5 separate regions of the Homo sapiens genome follow, and all the other regions are linked to region 4. Evidence: promoter capture Hi-C in human tissues and cell types (Jung and others, 2019). All regions are on one chromosome and are shown on one strand. The core of a region is centred on a gene start or on the middle of the fragment in contact, and the rest is flanking DNA. Distances in the headings are between cores, read along the strand shown.

Region 1 (2,700 bases), core at 201-2,700, 310 kb after region 4:
TGACACTGAATTTAAAAGGGTATGTCATGAGAATTAGCTCCCAGGCTGTTAACCACATTGCCTGACTATATTCAAGGCTTAAGATTCCAAACACTAAACTGAGAATTTTTCTTTATGCCTTATTTTGGTTCTGAATCTATTTTTGTTTTTATTCCTATTTTACCATTGCTTTATGTAAACCATCTTAATTATATGAAATTGCAAAAAGTCTCTTTGCTAACCCCATTCTGGAAGTCTAAAATAGAAATTAAGCTGTTTTCTTCCCTAATTGATTCTTCTCTTCCCTCTGGCTTATGATATTTCAAAAAAAAAGACTGCATCTAGATGCCAGTTTCTTCAGTCATTGAAATGGTCTCTGCTTTACTGTATACATTTATTATAAATGCTGTGATAGGAGAGGAAGGCAATCACAATTATTTGTTCAATTTTTATTATACCTGCTTTACTGAGTTTTCTGTATGTTGTAAGCTCTCCGAATGAGATTTATAAAATAAAATGTAGACAGCTCCGTGAAAATGGTGAATTGTTTTGTTTTTTCAAGACAGCATAAGAAAATTGATATTTATTTGTTGTTTTATTTTTAACATGATCTGTATTTTGTTAAATCTCATTTTTTTCTCTGGTATTTTGCTCAATGGCATCTTCTTCATGCTGTGCTGAGTCTCATTGCATCTGATCTCTCAGAGTTGTGAGAAATATTGATAAGATTTTTTAATATCAGGTGTGTGCCAGTTAAGTTTGTAAATCAGGTAGAATGAACTGGTCTGCAATAAAGGCAAGATGCTATTAATTAAGAGATAAGCCAAGAAAGCATGTTATTTTGTTGTGATGATTTCAAAAGCCAGATGTCTACAGACTTATTCCCTTCCTAAGAGAATGTAGTGGGAAATTAACTACAAAACATTCAGATTCTTATGATGCATATTTCTTTCTTTTTGGCAGGAGCTTCAAAAGTCATATGAAGTAATAGATCTGAGATAATTATGCTTACTTTAAAAAAAGATAATGTTTAATAAAGACCTCTCAGGTGGGGTAAAGTCTTTAGTATATAAAAATCATTTTCTGAGAAACTCTCTCTTACGTAAACAAACCCTGAGCAATTTTCCCAGCTGCCAGTAAAAATGGTGCTATAATTTACATTTGAATTAATAAAGTAATAGATTTCAATAGCTACAACTATATTGCTTTACCTTAACCTAAATTCTCATAACATGCAATTTTTTATAGTCCAACATGCTAATTTTTTGAATAGCTGAGTAACTATTACAAGCTGTAAAGCTTATTGTTCTTTTCCTTCTTGATTGTGCCATCTGCTAGAAACAAAAGCAAAGATAAAAAGCTCATTGAGCACAGAAGATTCTGTATTTAATTTGCCTTCTATGGAGACACATCTCCTTGGGGAAAAAAATAATGCTGCATTTTAAGAAACATTTTTTTTACTTCATTACAGATGGGGGACTCAAGGAGATTTCACCACCACCCATCCTCGGCCTGTGGTCAAAGTGAAACTCTTCACAGAAAGCACTGGAGTTCTGGCCCTGGAAGATAAAGAACTGGGAAGGGTGAGTTGTGGTCAGCCTGTGTGTCCAGGGTAGAACAGTTTTAACTTCTTTGGATTCATGATTAAGGTAGATCAGTATGCCATATGTGAACTTTATGTTCATAAATTACATAAAATAATTTGTTATTTCCCACAAGCCCAGTATACACCTCTAATTTATTAAATCTAATTGTCTATAACACAGAAAGTATTGTGATAGGATTTGGTTGTGTAAGGGGTAAATACAAATTCCTTGTCACCAACTCAGTCATTCTCACACATGTGCTCCACTGGCCATTGAATGTGAATGGTGCTGGCCAACTTGCTCTTGGTGAAGGGTAATTCTCATGTAACATATTTTTGTCCCTGGGTTCAAAGGATCATCTTTATATTTGAAATCATCTGCTCTTCATGTTCATTGTGATTAATCACAGAATATCTCCGAAGTGCATCTGTCTCTCTTATCTTTTCCACTTTCCCCATGAAAAGCCCTTTTTCTCACACCTTTTAACATTATTCTTTTCCTATAGTCACCTCTTCATACCTAGAATATATATATGTTTACCTTCTAATCCCAGTATACCCTTACTATACTCAGCTTGTGCTGTCAGTAAAAGCATTAACATTAGGTAAATCTGTGTGAAAGGTCATCTTCAGACTTATAAATGAAGTAGGTGTTCTAATTGAGTAGTCTATATGAAGATGTCTTCTGTAATGTGAATTTTTTAATGGGTTTTTTTTTTTTTTTGAGACAGAATCTTGCTCTGTTGCCCAGGCTGGAGTGCAGTGGCACAACCTCGGCTCATTGCAACCCACCTCCTAGATTCGAGCGATTCTTGTGCCTCAGACTCCCAAGTAGCTGGGACCACAGGCACATACCACCTTGCCTGGCTAAATTTTGTATTTTTAGTAGAGATGGGGTTTCACCATCTTGGCCAGGCTTGTCTTGAACTCCTGACCTCAAGTGATCCACTCGCTTCAGCCTCCCAAAATGCTGGGATTACAAGCATAAGCCACCAACACCCGCCCTCTGTAATGTGAACCTATCTTACCTAGACCTGAAGACTGTATTCAGAGATATTTTCCAGCAAATAAAACCTTCAGAAATCTTACTTGAAAATTTCTGTCTGGTATTAATGGACTGCTTGTACAGTGCTAGA
Region 2 (2,700 bases), core at 85-2,584, 350 kb after region 4:
TAAGTGTCCTGTGGCAATGATCTGTGTCATTTTCATCTTTAATTCCTCATTTTAATTCCTAACACACTGTTTTGCAATTAACAGGTCCCTAATAAATAATCTTAAATACTTCTATTTTTCTAGTCTGTTCATTATTCAGTAACTATAATTTATAACTATTCTACAACTATTCATTTTTCTTAAAAGCAAAAGGATATCATTTGTCTAATATTGTTTTGTTTTGCTTTATTCTGTGGAGATAAATTTACATTATAAAATTTAGGTTTGGAGAAACCCAATTACAAAAGGCAATTTGTATAAGGATGCCTTGTCATGCTACAGGTTCTGTCTCTCTTCCCAGTAGGGAGATAGTTTAGGACTGCCTCACAGCAGCCACTTAGTTCAGTTGGGTAGATATGGTGCTAATAGTCTAGGGTTTCCTCTAAGGTCTTGTTATCCTTCTTTATCCTCACTTTATCAAATGCTTGATAAAGTATTATTGGAAAACGTGAGAGTAAGACTCGCAGTGGAATTTTTGTAAAAGTTTTAAAAGGTCCCAAGAGACACAAGTCACTTTCACTGATGTGGGGCTCAGTATATCATCCCATCAATCTACAACTCTTGCCATTAGGCTTTAAAACAAGATCTATTTGCATGAGTTATTATCAAAAATCCAAATATATATTTGTTTTCATCAATGATACAGCAATATTCTCTACTAGTTCTTACAGGAATGTGTGGTCAATATCAATAGGATAATTCTGGTAATTATGCCTGTTTTGTAAAAGTCTTGTGAACATACTGGAAAGGTTCTTTAACAGACTTTATAAAAATAAAACATATTTATTATCTGGTATACTATTACCTTTTTAGAGTACTCAGCTACTACTCTAATTAGCAAGCTGATCCAAACATATGACTTCTTACATCTCTGACATCCAGATATAGTAGATTAAATACATTTGAAGAATCTATCACATTAAATAATATTCTTATTTAGTTCTTACAACACTATGTGATAGGTATGATGATACCAACTTACAAACAAGATCACTGAGTCATAAGGAGGTTAAGAAATTTGCCCAAAGCCATATAGCTAATAAGTGACCATGATTTGAACTCACTTGTCTGATTCCAGAGCTTATTCTCTAAACTGCTAGGCAACACCACCTACTAATACAAAATACTTTTCTCTTTAAGTGATCACTGTCAGTTCACGATACTCAAGTACCACCAGAGGCCAGGCAACTCAAATACTTGTGTAAAGTGATTAGGTTAAAAGTCATGAGGACTGGAAGTATCAGGATTATAGAAATCAGGAGAACATGTCCTGCAAAAGGGATTTCAAAATATATTTTTAAATGCTCAGCTTTCAAAGCACATTGGCAAGCCAGATTTGGTCCATGAGTCACCATTTTTTATTTTTTGGTTTATAGAAACATCCCTCCCCATTACTACTTTTGAATAATTTAGAGGTTCTGCTAATTGCCACATACTCAGAAACTGTATTTGCTTCTTTTCTTAGTGGCTAAGGAACCTTGGATATTCACATATTTTGAAATTGATTTCATTGAAATAAGAGAATGAAAGGAATTAAAAATGCACTTTTTTCCTGTTTAAATCTTTCTTCATGTCATTTATTAAAAATAATGACATTTCCATTGATGTACATTACTGTTAATCTGCCATCAAATCAATTATCTCTTCTGTGGCTATCTGAGGCCTGGCCTATATTTACTCAATAATTTACAAACTCTAAATATTAGGGTCTTGAGTTAGGACATAAAATTCATCATCAGTTTGACATTTATTTCTCATCTCAGAATTGTATCAGTTTGTAAGTTTGGCATGGTGAATATCTCAATTTATAACTATGCCTTAAGCCTGTGACTTTGTAGTGAATTATATGAAAAACAAATCTGCATAATATCTTTCAGCCTAGTAAATATATTTGCTCTCCTCTGTGTAGTTACTTTGCTGAAATATCACTTAGAGACTATGTTGGGAGGCATTGTTGAAATAGTCTTGATATGTTAAAAGCTTAGCCTATTTTGAACTGATCATATCAGTTCAAGGAATTTACCTTACTACAAAAGCAAATGATTTTGATTGTTTAAATGTAAGATTAGGAAACAAAATCCCTCATATTAAAGTTGTCTAGAGTTTAGATAAAAATCAGAATCACGCTTTTAAAAGAATTCAGGTGCAATAAATAGAATTCAGATCAGCAAATGTTCAGACTCCTAAATCATTGGCAAATTAGGTAATACACAGAGCTGGAGATGTGAATATTATATAATGAGGATAATAAAGGAGTTGAATGTGATGTGCCTTGGGTGCATGTTAGTAGCTAATTCCAATATGAATGCTTTGCAATCATTTGCCAGCAGAGATGCATGCGTTCGGCTAAATGGAAATCTTGGACGTTCTCTCATACACCCCATTATTTGTAATTGAACACCTGATTTCTATCATGCAACAAATTAACATCTGCACTGGATCTGTCTTTTATGCATATGGATACACTGATTAGAATTTTGCAGATAGGCAGATACTTGAAAACAAAAAGACAACATTGTGAAACACTTCCAGCCATAATTTTTGATTACATATTGAGAATCGTTTAATTATCTTACTCCATGTAATTAGCTCTTCTACTTAGGTCAATTGCTTTTTTTATTAACATGACATGTTAGCAATTTGTTAATTGGCATAAAATAA
Region 3 (2,700 bases), core at 71-2,570, 460 kb after region 4:
GAGCCTACTTGCCCTAGACTTTGGCACCATGTAACTTACCACAGGTTGCTATGGCCAGAGCTGGAGGAAGGGTCAGAAAATCTAGATAAAAATTTAGACTTTCCAACTGAGTCATCAGTCTGTACTATGCAAAGAGGGAGGATGTTGATATCAGAGTTAAGATTCAAATTAGAGTAGACTGGGGATCCAGTAGAAATTCCCTGGCTAGCTAAGGTAGACTAAAGGGACTTATGGTTTATTTATTTATTTTTATTTTTATTTATTTATTTTGAGACGGAGTCTCACTCTGTCACCCAGACTGGGGTGCAGTGGCGCGATCTCGGCTCACTGCAACCTCTGCCTCCCAGGTTCAAGCAATTCTTCTGCCTCAGCCTCCCAAGTAGCTGGGATTACAGGCGTGTGCCACCACGCCAGGCTATTTTTTTTTTTTTTTTTTAATAGAGACGGGGTTTCACCATGTTGGCCAGGCTGGCCTCGAACTCCTAATATCAAGTGATCCACCCACCTCAGCTTCCCAAAGTGCTGGGATTACAGGCATGAGCCACCGTGCCTGGCCAGGGGATTATGGTTTATAAATGAACAGAAGGCATCTAACATTGATGAGTTACCTAAGATAGAGTATTTTCTGATCTCTGTAATTAGAACAATTTGTTTATGTGCCCAAAGCATTGTGTATATGTGTGTGAGAGTGTGTAATGTAATGTTGCTTTATATTTCTGCAGGGGGAACAGCTAGGGGATCAATCACTATCTCCTTTAGTGGGGAGAGGGAAAAGGAAGGATCCATTCCACCATTTCTTCAGCTGGGCCTAATGGTAGATAAGTTTTGCCAGCAAGCAGTCCACAAGAGTAGGCTGACAGTCCTTGTTACTGGCTGACATTTGGGGTTCCACGTAGAAGAAATTAGATGCTGTGCCTTTGGCCGTAATGTCCTTGTTCTTTACAGGCTCTCAAGGTAAAGCCTCGCTGTTTGGGCCTCACTTCAGAGAGTGCCCCAGGTGACTGCTTCCTTGTGCTCATATCCCTGCTATTGCCAAACTATAGTCCTTCCTTTCCCTTGTTTCACTAGATAGTAGATATTTTCCCATTTTCTCCCTTTTTCCACACCTCTTTTCTGATTTTCTGAAGTTATCCCTATAGTCCCTTATGAAGATTTTTGTGTTTCTCACCTCAGCCATCTCCTGAACGTCAGGACTTTTTCATTATCCATCTGATATATAGTCATTAGCTGGAGAGGGAAGAAGCAGAGGAGTGAGTGAATGCTTTTCTCTGAATGGGAGGGGGAAGAGGTGAAAGACTTCCACTTTGGACTGTTGCTAGCTTTCTAAACTCGAACACATACCCACCACAATAATTTCATTCTGAAAAACTCCATATGATATACACAGCAATTTAAAGCCTTCTTATTGATGCATCTTTGATCCTATTTCTTGCAAGCTAATAACCCTGTTCTTACATACTGCTTACATTTAATTCACTCTCTTTACAGACTTTATAACAGATCTTCTTTATGTTGACCAGAAATGGATTATAGGTTGCCATATTCTACCTTATAATCTGGTTAGAAAGAGATATATGTAAATTCTTTGAAGGCAGAAATAATATCTTTTTAATCATTGTATCCCCTCAGTGGCTAGCGAAGTACCTTACATGGAATAAAATGTTTGTTGAATCAAATTCAGGGCCACGGAATCTGAGGAGTTTAAAAACCAAAGAAGAAATGAATGCATATACAGGAATTATTTTTTCATGCTCCCTAGCTGATCATCATGGCCTAGATGCAAAGGAGGGAAGAAGATAGGGCAGTATTGGAATGGAATTATTTCCATAGTCCTTCAGTCTAACACCATCTTCAACACTATTTATTGTTTAGCTGCAAGTACAGATACAATCAGCTCATTAAATTTAAGATCATGGTGAGTGGAGGTGAGGACATTTAAAATCTCTCATCAAAATTAATTTGTGACAATTGTTACATAATATATACATAAATCATCATGTAGGGTTATTAGCAAATACTTTTTCATCAATTTAAAAAATTTTAAAGTTAAGGTCAAAGCATGACAAATTACTACATATCATATACGGATAAAAAGGAAGGTATCTCACTGGTCTTCTTCCCACATCCTGGTATAAGCTTCACCATGAGCATCACTGTGCATCCATCACGGGGACTTTGACAGGGAATAGCAGCAAGGGAGGCAGCCCAGTCCAGTGTGCCAGGAGATATGCCCCTTTCTAAGCCATGGAGTAGAATGAAACCCTACCAAAGCAAACAGTCGAGCTGTCTTTTTACATCTTTCCATCCTCCCTCCCCTTCCCCAGTAGGATCTCTTCTTAAATGTATGGAGGTATAATTAAAAATGAATTGTTTCAATGAGCCAAGGAGTGTTACAGAAAACCAAAAGTGTTCCAGAGCAAAGAAGAATCATAGCCAAGAACAATGCATTGAAATTCATCAAGCAACTTTGCTACTTTTGGCATGTTTGTTTTAAATGTCACTGTTTGAAATGTATTACAACAATCAGCAATTTGGTGTGAAGCTTGAAGGATGTAGAGCCATCTGTAATGCTTTGGAAATGTTACAAAATGAGTGAAAACAAACATTTTAAGGAAGAATTCTCAAATATTCCCAATGTTCGGCTTTTTAATGGGGCTATTGATAACCTTGTTATCTAATAGAATTATGACTGTAGAATGC
Region 4 (2,700 bases), core at 186-2,685:
TTATTACTAGGGGGCCTGTTATGGATTAGGCAGAAAAATAGGTAAGACTCCTCAGGAGTAAATGCCTCCTTGTCTTTTACCCATCTAGAGAGAATGTCAGTAAGTGCAGAAGTCTCTCTTGTGTACCTAACTATATGAAAGTGGCCTGAAAAAGCTAAAACTGCTGTTTGACCATGGTGGTAGAGGAGCTCAGAGCTGGTAGTTAATTTGCCCTGTGTTATTTCCACTGAACTTCATCACCTCCCTGCCCACCTGGTCGCTGCACACTCCACCTGGTGTTGAATGCATTGTTTTGCCTATTTCCCCCTCTGTCAGGACTTAGGACATAAGATACAGAATTACTATAAGAAACTCCTAGGTGGTTCCAGCACTAGGACTGAGAAATCTGCGCAGATAAGGCAGGCTTCAGCGCAGCTACAAGACGCCGACTTGAGGCCAGAACCACCAGCGACTGAGTGTCATGTGCCTTAGTCACCGCGGGCTCCGCAAAAGGCTAACAGTGCTGGACACCGGGAGGGCGCTCAAATCTTTGTTGAATAAATGTCCACACTACACAACCTGTTTTGAGTCAACTGCATCCCAACCCAGAAAATAATCGAGATATGTTTGAGCTGAATCAGTATCATTTTGCACATATAAAATCTCTCTTGCCTTGAGTCTGCAGGACTAGAACAGTTTAAAAAGTAAGCCTCGTTGGTTTTCTTTTTTTTTTCATTACTCCGACTTTTATAATTTGGGCTTCAGCATGAGTATCAAAACGGCAGCAGAGCAGAGTGAGACTTTTCAAAGTCTTGTCGCAAAGATACTTCGTGGTGAAGGGCTCCAGTCCCGCTTTTCCGCGCTGGGGTTCAATCCTAGGCAGCCGATTCGGGTTGGGGAGATGTCTCGGCCGCTCCCCCTAACCTCTTGCTAGGGAACAGTCCCTCCCCGCTCCCCATTCCACCTCCACCTGCTGGAGAAAAGATCACAGGTGGTAGGGTGAGGGTAGTCGGAGCAGCCCCGGTGGACGCTTACACGGGCCATCGCGCTCGGCCGCTCCCCGCCTTTGCAAACTGTGTGCTAGGGCTCCAGGCGGGCCCGGGCAGCAGCGGCGGCGCGCGCACGCGCACTCCGCGGCCCCGCGCGGCTCTTCAACATTCAATTCCACGTGTTGCTTGTTGTAGGCGCCACAGGTTCCCCACCTGCGTCCGGGCGCTCGGGCGGCTCCGCCTCTGCCGGCGGGCTCTGGGGAACCGCTGGGTCGGCGCGCCCGGGGCTGGCGGAGCAATTCCTGAGGCGCCCAAGCTCACCCCCAACGCTAACTCCGCCTATTCAGTCCCGGCGGCTCCCCCTCTCCCCCCTCCCAATCCTCCTCCCGGCTCCTGCCCGCCCCTTTCGCCCTGGTGGTAGGAAACACTCCTGAATCTAACTCGACGTGTCCGGAAAGCCCTGGCCAGTTTTCCTTTCGTTCTGCGGCCGCTGCAGCCAGCCCCGCGGCTCCCTCAGACCCGCGGGCGCAGCCGCCGGGGGTGAGGCGCTTGGGGACCGCGGGCCGAGCGGCGGGGATCCCCGAGCACCATGCTGGACCCGTCTTCCAGCGAAGAGGAGTCGGACGAGGGGCTGGAAGAGGAAAGCCGCGATGTGCTGGTGGCAGCCGGCAGCTCGCAGCGAGCTCCTCCAGCCCCGACTCGGGAAGGGCGGCGGGACGCGCCGGGGCGCGCGGGCGGCGGCGGCGCGGCCAGATCTGTGAGCCCGAGCCCCTCTGTGCTCAGCGAGGGGCGAGACGAGCCCCAGCGGCAGCTGGACGATGAGCAGGAGCGGAGGATCCGCCTGCAGCTCTACGTCTTCGTCGTGAGGTGCATCGCGTACCCCTTCAACGCCAAGCAGCCCACCGACATGGCCCGGAGGCAGCAGAAGGTGAGTTGCGGGACCGGGCGCCTCCTACCACCACTTCTCCCTGGGTTTTTCTCCCGGGAGAGCTCTGGGACGCCTCCCGTCCTTCTGCGAAACGCAGGACACCGTATTTTTGTTAGTCTCTGAGGGCAGAGGAATCTTTGGGGACAAGACGGTGCTTTCACCCGCCGGGTATGCGGCTGCAGCGGACACCTCTTCTCCTCCTCCCCGCCTGGGCTGGCAGGAGCTGTCAGCTCACCATCCGTGAGACAGAGACCGACAGCGCCGGCCGCGCCGCGGTTGCACCCGGCAGGCGCAGCTCTGGCCGGATTAGAATGCAACTCCCATCAACTTTAATTTCCAACAGCACTGGTGCATTCCTGTCCACCTAGCCTGGCGTGATATTGCTAGAGCTGGGTTTGCCGAGGGTCTGAATGAGTGTTGTAGCTAGGCGAAACAGGTGGAGCCCGAGTACTTCTCTTAGCTAGAGTGAAGTCTTCACTTAAGAGGGGTAGAAATTTTCCTCAGTGAATAAAAAAGTTAAATTAATACGTTTCCTATATTGTCATACAACCAGGACATCAAATCCAAACACCGAGAAGGCATGCAGCTTTGTAAAGTGTTTGTGGGTAAGTAATTTCTGGTCTGGGCAGGCCTGATTAATGAAATATACTATTACTGATGAAAGATAAAGGATTGGTGCATGATCACTTCATAACAAATGCTTTCCAAATGCTTTTTTGGGGAACAAAATGCTTATTCTCCCCCAAAAGGTAAGAAGTTTGTTTCAGGTGAAAGGCTGGCCAACTTGAGTTTCAAAACAAGACC
Region 5 (2,700 bases), core at 192-2,691, 290 kb before region 4:
CAGGGCTGAGCCACTTAAAATATGGAAGTATTCTGGGCCAGGTAATAATGTGATTATTGAAATTTTGCTTTTTATTCTGTCACCAAAGTTGTGCCATCTTAGTGGACTATGACTCTCCACCCAAAGGCCCATGTTGACATGGATGTTCAACACTTAAGGCAGGGGGTGTATATGGTGAACAGAACCAGCTAGCACTATGTATTCTATTTATTTTTTGATGTTTTAGCAGACCCTCATAGATTGGTGCTCCAGATAGTTGTCAGGGTGGCTAGACCTGTATCTGGCTTTCTGTAAGGGAATGCCAAATACAAAATGGATTCTTGGAAAGTGACCTGATATTGGAATAGTCTTGCCTGCAGTGGAGGAAGTGGGTGGAGGGGCAGATTTGAGAGATATAATGACTGGGGAATAAATAGGATCAAGATAGTGGCTAGTTGTAACTAGAGAGCAAGATTAAAAGTGGTCCATTTTATCTCTGCAACCTAGGTTCTTACAAGTATGATGGAAAACATAAAGTCATAACAGGAACTTTCAGGCTATCCATGTGTTCTCATTAAGAGAAAATGCACAACCTTTCTTCCATGCTGGCATTTTAATTTAAGCTAGTATACACAATTCTCTCTAGAGCTGTTCAGGAAGATCCATTCAAGGCTCAGCTTTGTTTTGTTGTTTTATTGTTTATCAAGATGGTAGAAGCAGACTCTGTATGAAACTGTCAACATCAAAACACTTTCATTCTTTCTCCTTTAAATAGATAACACAATAAAGGTACTGCCTAATCCTGGCTTATTAAGGATATCTTAGAAATGCACTGGAAGTGTAGGGATGCTGGTCAAGTAAATCCCAAGCCCCAAGGACTCACCCTGAGGCAGTTGAATCAGACAGCAGTAGTGCCAGACAAAAATAAAAGCTTAATAACTTCATTCAACCTAAACAGCAGTTTTTGTAAATTTTTCAAATGCAACTCAGAATTTGCAGAGAGTAAGCACTGTGAGAGCAAAATAGCACCATTTGATAGCTGCTAACCTTTACTAAAGACTTAGAACGTTCCAGGTGATTTCATACCAAAGTTATCTATATAAGTTAAATATAATGATAAATTTTGACCATCTCTTAACAATGCCCTAAAACATGAACCTATAGTTTTATACTAAGCAAAGCAACAGATTCTATTAAGAGTAGCATTCAGGCTCTTCCATGCCACACAACTTGTCATGTCTTTTCTCTGAGACACAGTACGGCAAAGGTTTCTCCTAGGTTGGTTTTCCCCTTTTAGTTAGAAGGAGAGGAAGGCAGGAGTGCTTAGGTCCCACTCAACCAGGCACCAAGGAATGCATTTAAAAGGCAGGTATCCTGCCCCCAGGGGAAAGGCTGTAACTTGGCTATTTCTGTACTCTGGAAGTATGGGGGAGTGCATTTTATAGGCCAAAGGAAAGTGAGTAGAAACATCTATATACACTAATATGAGCAAGAAAATGGACTAGATTATCTCTTTTGAGGGAAATGTGAAATAAATGTAATGAATGGGGATTTTTTTCTCCCTTTAGTTTTTTATGTTTATTAAATTTTGCTTCTTAGAACTTCTAAGAAATGAGTATTTGAGGGCAACTCAAAGATGCAGAGGTCTTCAGATCTTCTTACGTTCTCTGTGACATGGCTCTATTAAGCAAACATGTTTGTGTTTGAATGTTGACTTCTCCAGCCTCATAATATCACCTTTTGCTTTGCATTTGTTCTTACCAGGAAGCAGAATGTGCCTACACACTCTTTGTGGTCGCCACATTTTGGCTCACAGAAGCATTGCCTCTGTCGGTAACAGCTTTGCTACCTAGTTTAATGTTACCCATGTTTGGGATCATGCCTTCTAAGAAGGTAAGTCCTCTTGCCAATGTCATAAGTTGATTTCCTGTTTTGTATTGAGATTTCCATTGAGAAAAGTTATTTTTAAAGGGAGCAATCATCTCGTTGGTAAGGTTCCACATAAGTCCCCCAAACTTCCAACTGTTTCTCCTCTCTGGCATTCTGCATGTGTGTCCACCTTCAAAGAACAAACACAAGCTGCAGCTTCTTGAGTCATGCATGTCAGTGGGAGAAATGTATGTCCCCTCTTCTCTCACTGACATCTATGCCTAGTGCCTCCCTCTCAAAAACAGGGAAATTTGTTGACATCCTCCATAAGCTTTTTATATTCAGCAGAATTCAGCCTCACGGTGTTGGAAAAACAATTTTGTTTTTAATGAAGAAAAAGTTTCCCTGTTTTCATTTCCAGAAACCTGCCATTTCAAAAGATAAAGCCAAACTAATGTTCATGTATAGCTCCATTTTGTTCTTGCTGAGAGGAGTTTATTCATGCTAAGAGGTGTTTATTTGTTCTATACAATCTAAGAGTACCCATCTGAAGAAAGTGGATTTGGTTTCCCAAACGCATTGAAACCAGTCTCCAGCCACCCAGTGAACAACTGTCTAAACCACAGCTGAAACAATCTCAAGAAAGATGTTAAGTTCGAGATACCAGTCAGTGCAATTTATCACCTTTGGACTTCTATCTTCTGCCTGGGTCTAACATTGCTCTCTTGAGGCTTACCTGTCTGTCATTTTCTTTTTAACAAACCCTTGATTACATTTCTTCCTGTGAAAGGAATGGTTCCCTTCTTTATTTTCACGTCCTTCTTCCTGATTTTGGAGCCCCAGTCGATCTTT

The links. The method cuts DNA at HindIII sites, captures the fragments that hold promoters and counts their contacts. A contact is called where the count stands out against the background at its distance.
Region 1: a fragment that was not itself captured here is called in contact with the fragment with the promoter of CADPS2 in region 4 in 1 of the 25 tissues and cell types used here (H1 embryonic stem cells).
Region 2: a fragment that was not itself captured here is called in contact with the fragment with the promoter of CADPS2 in region 4 in 1 of the 25 tissues and cell types used here (H1 embryonic stem cells).
Region 3: a fragment that was not itself captured here is called in contact with the fragment with the promoter of CADPS2 in region 4 in 1 of the 25 tissues and cell types used here (heart left ventricle).
Region 5: a contact is called between a fragment that was not itself captured here and the fragment with the promoter of CADPS2 in region 4, in 1 of the 25 tissues and cell types used here (hippocampus).

The regions. Positions count from the first base shown.
Region 1 is chr7:122,580,041-122,582,740 of GRCh38, reverse strand. CADPS2 (calcium dependent secretion activator 2) reads left to right here. Exons shown (of 30, transcript NM_017954.11): 7 at 1,451-1,562. Among named protein-coding and RNA genes, the nearest start is that of RNF133, 120 kb to the left of the region's middle. The HindIII fragment of the contact is 4,038 bases long and covers 1-2,700 here.
Region 2 is chr7:122,533,643-122,536,342 of GRCh38, reverse strand. The region is part of intron 8 of CADPS2 (calcium dependent secretion activator 2); the gene reads left to right. All of the region lies in intron 2 of LOC105375481 (a long non-coding RNA gene), which reads right to left. Among named protein-coding and RNA genes, the nearest start is that of RNF133, 160 kb to the left of the region's middle. The HindIII fragment of the contact is 4,878 bases long and covers 1-2,700 here.
Region 3 is chr7:122,420,529-122,423,228 of GRCh38, reverse strand. The region is part of intron 17 of CADPS2 (calcium dependent secretion activator 2); the gene reads left to right. Among named protein-coding and RNA genes, the nearest start is that of FEZF1, 120 kb to the right of the region's middle. The HindIII fragment of the contact is 3,745 bases long and covers 1-2,700 here.
Region 4 is chr7:122,885,195-122,887,894 of GRCh38, reverse strand. It overlaps CADPS2 (calcium dependent secretion activator 2), which reads left to right and starts at 1,435. Exons shown (of 30, transcript NM_017954.11): 1 at 1,435-1,896. The coding sequence starts at 1,558. RefSeq lists silencers at 1,028-1,187, 1,198-1,357, 1,428-1,507, 1,518-1,567, 1,608-1,737 and an enhancer at 2,098-2,147. The HindIII fragment of the contact is 17,974 bases long and covers 1-2,700 here.
Region 5 is chr7:123,180,145-123,182,844 of GRCh38, reverse strand. It overlaps SLC13A1 (solute carrier family 13 member 1), which reads left to right. Exons shown (of 15, transcript NM_022444.4): 2 at 1,744-1,872. Among named protein-coding and RNA genes, the nearest start is that of SLC13A1, 18 kb to the left of the region's middle. The HindIII fragment of the contact is 3,497 bases long and covers 1-2,700 here.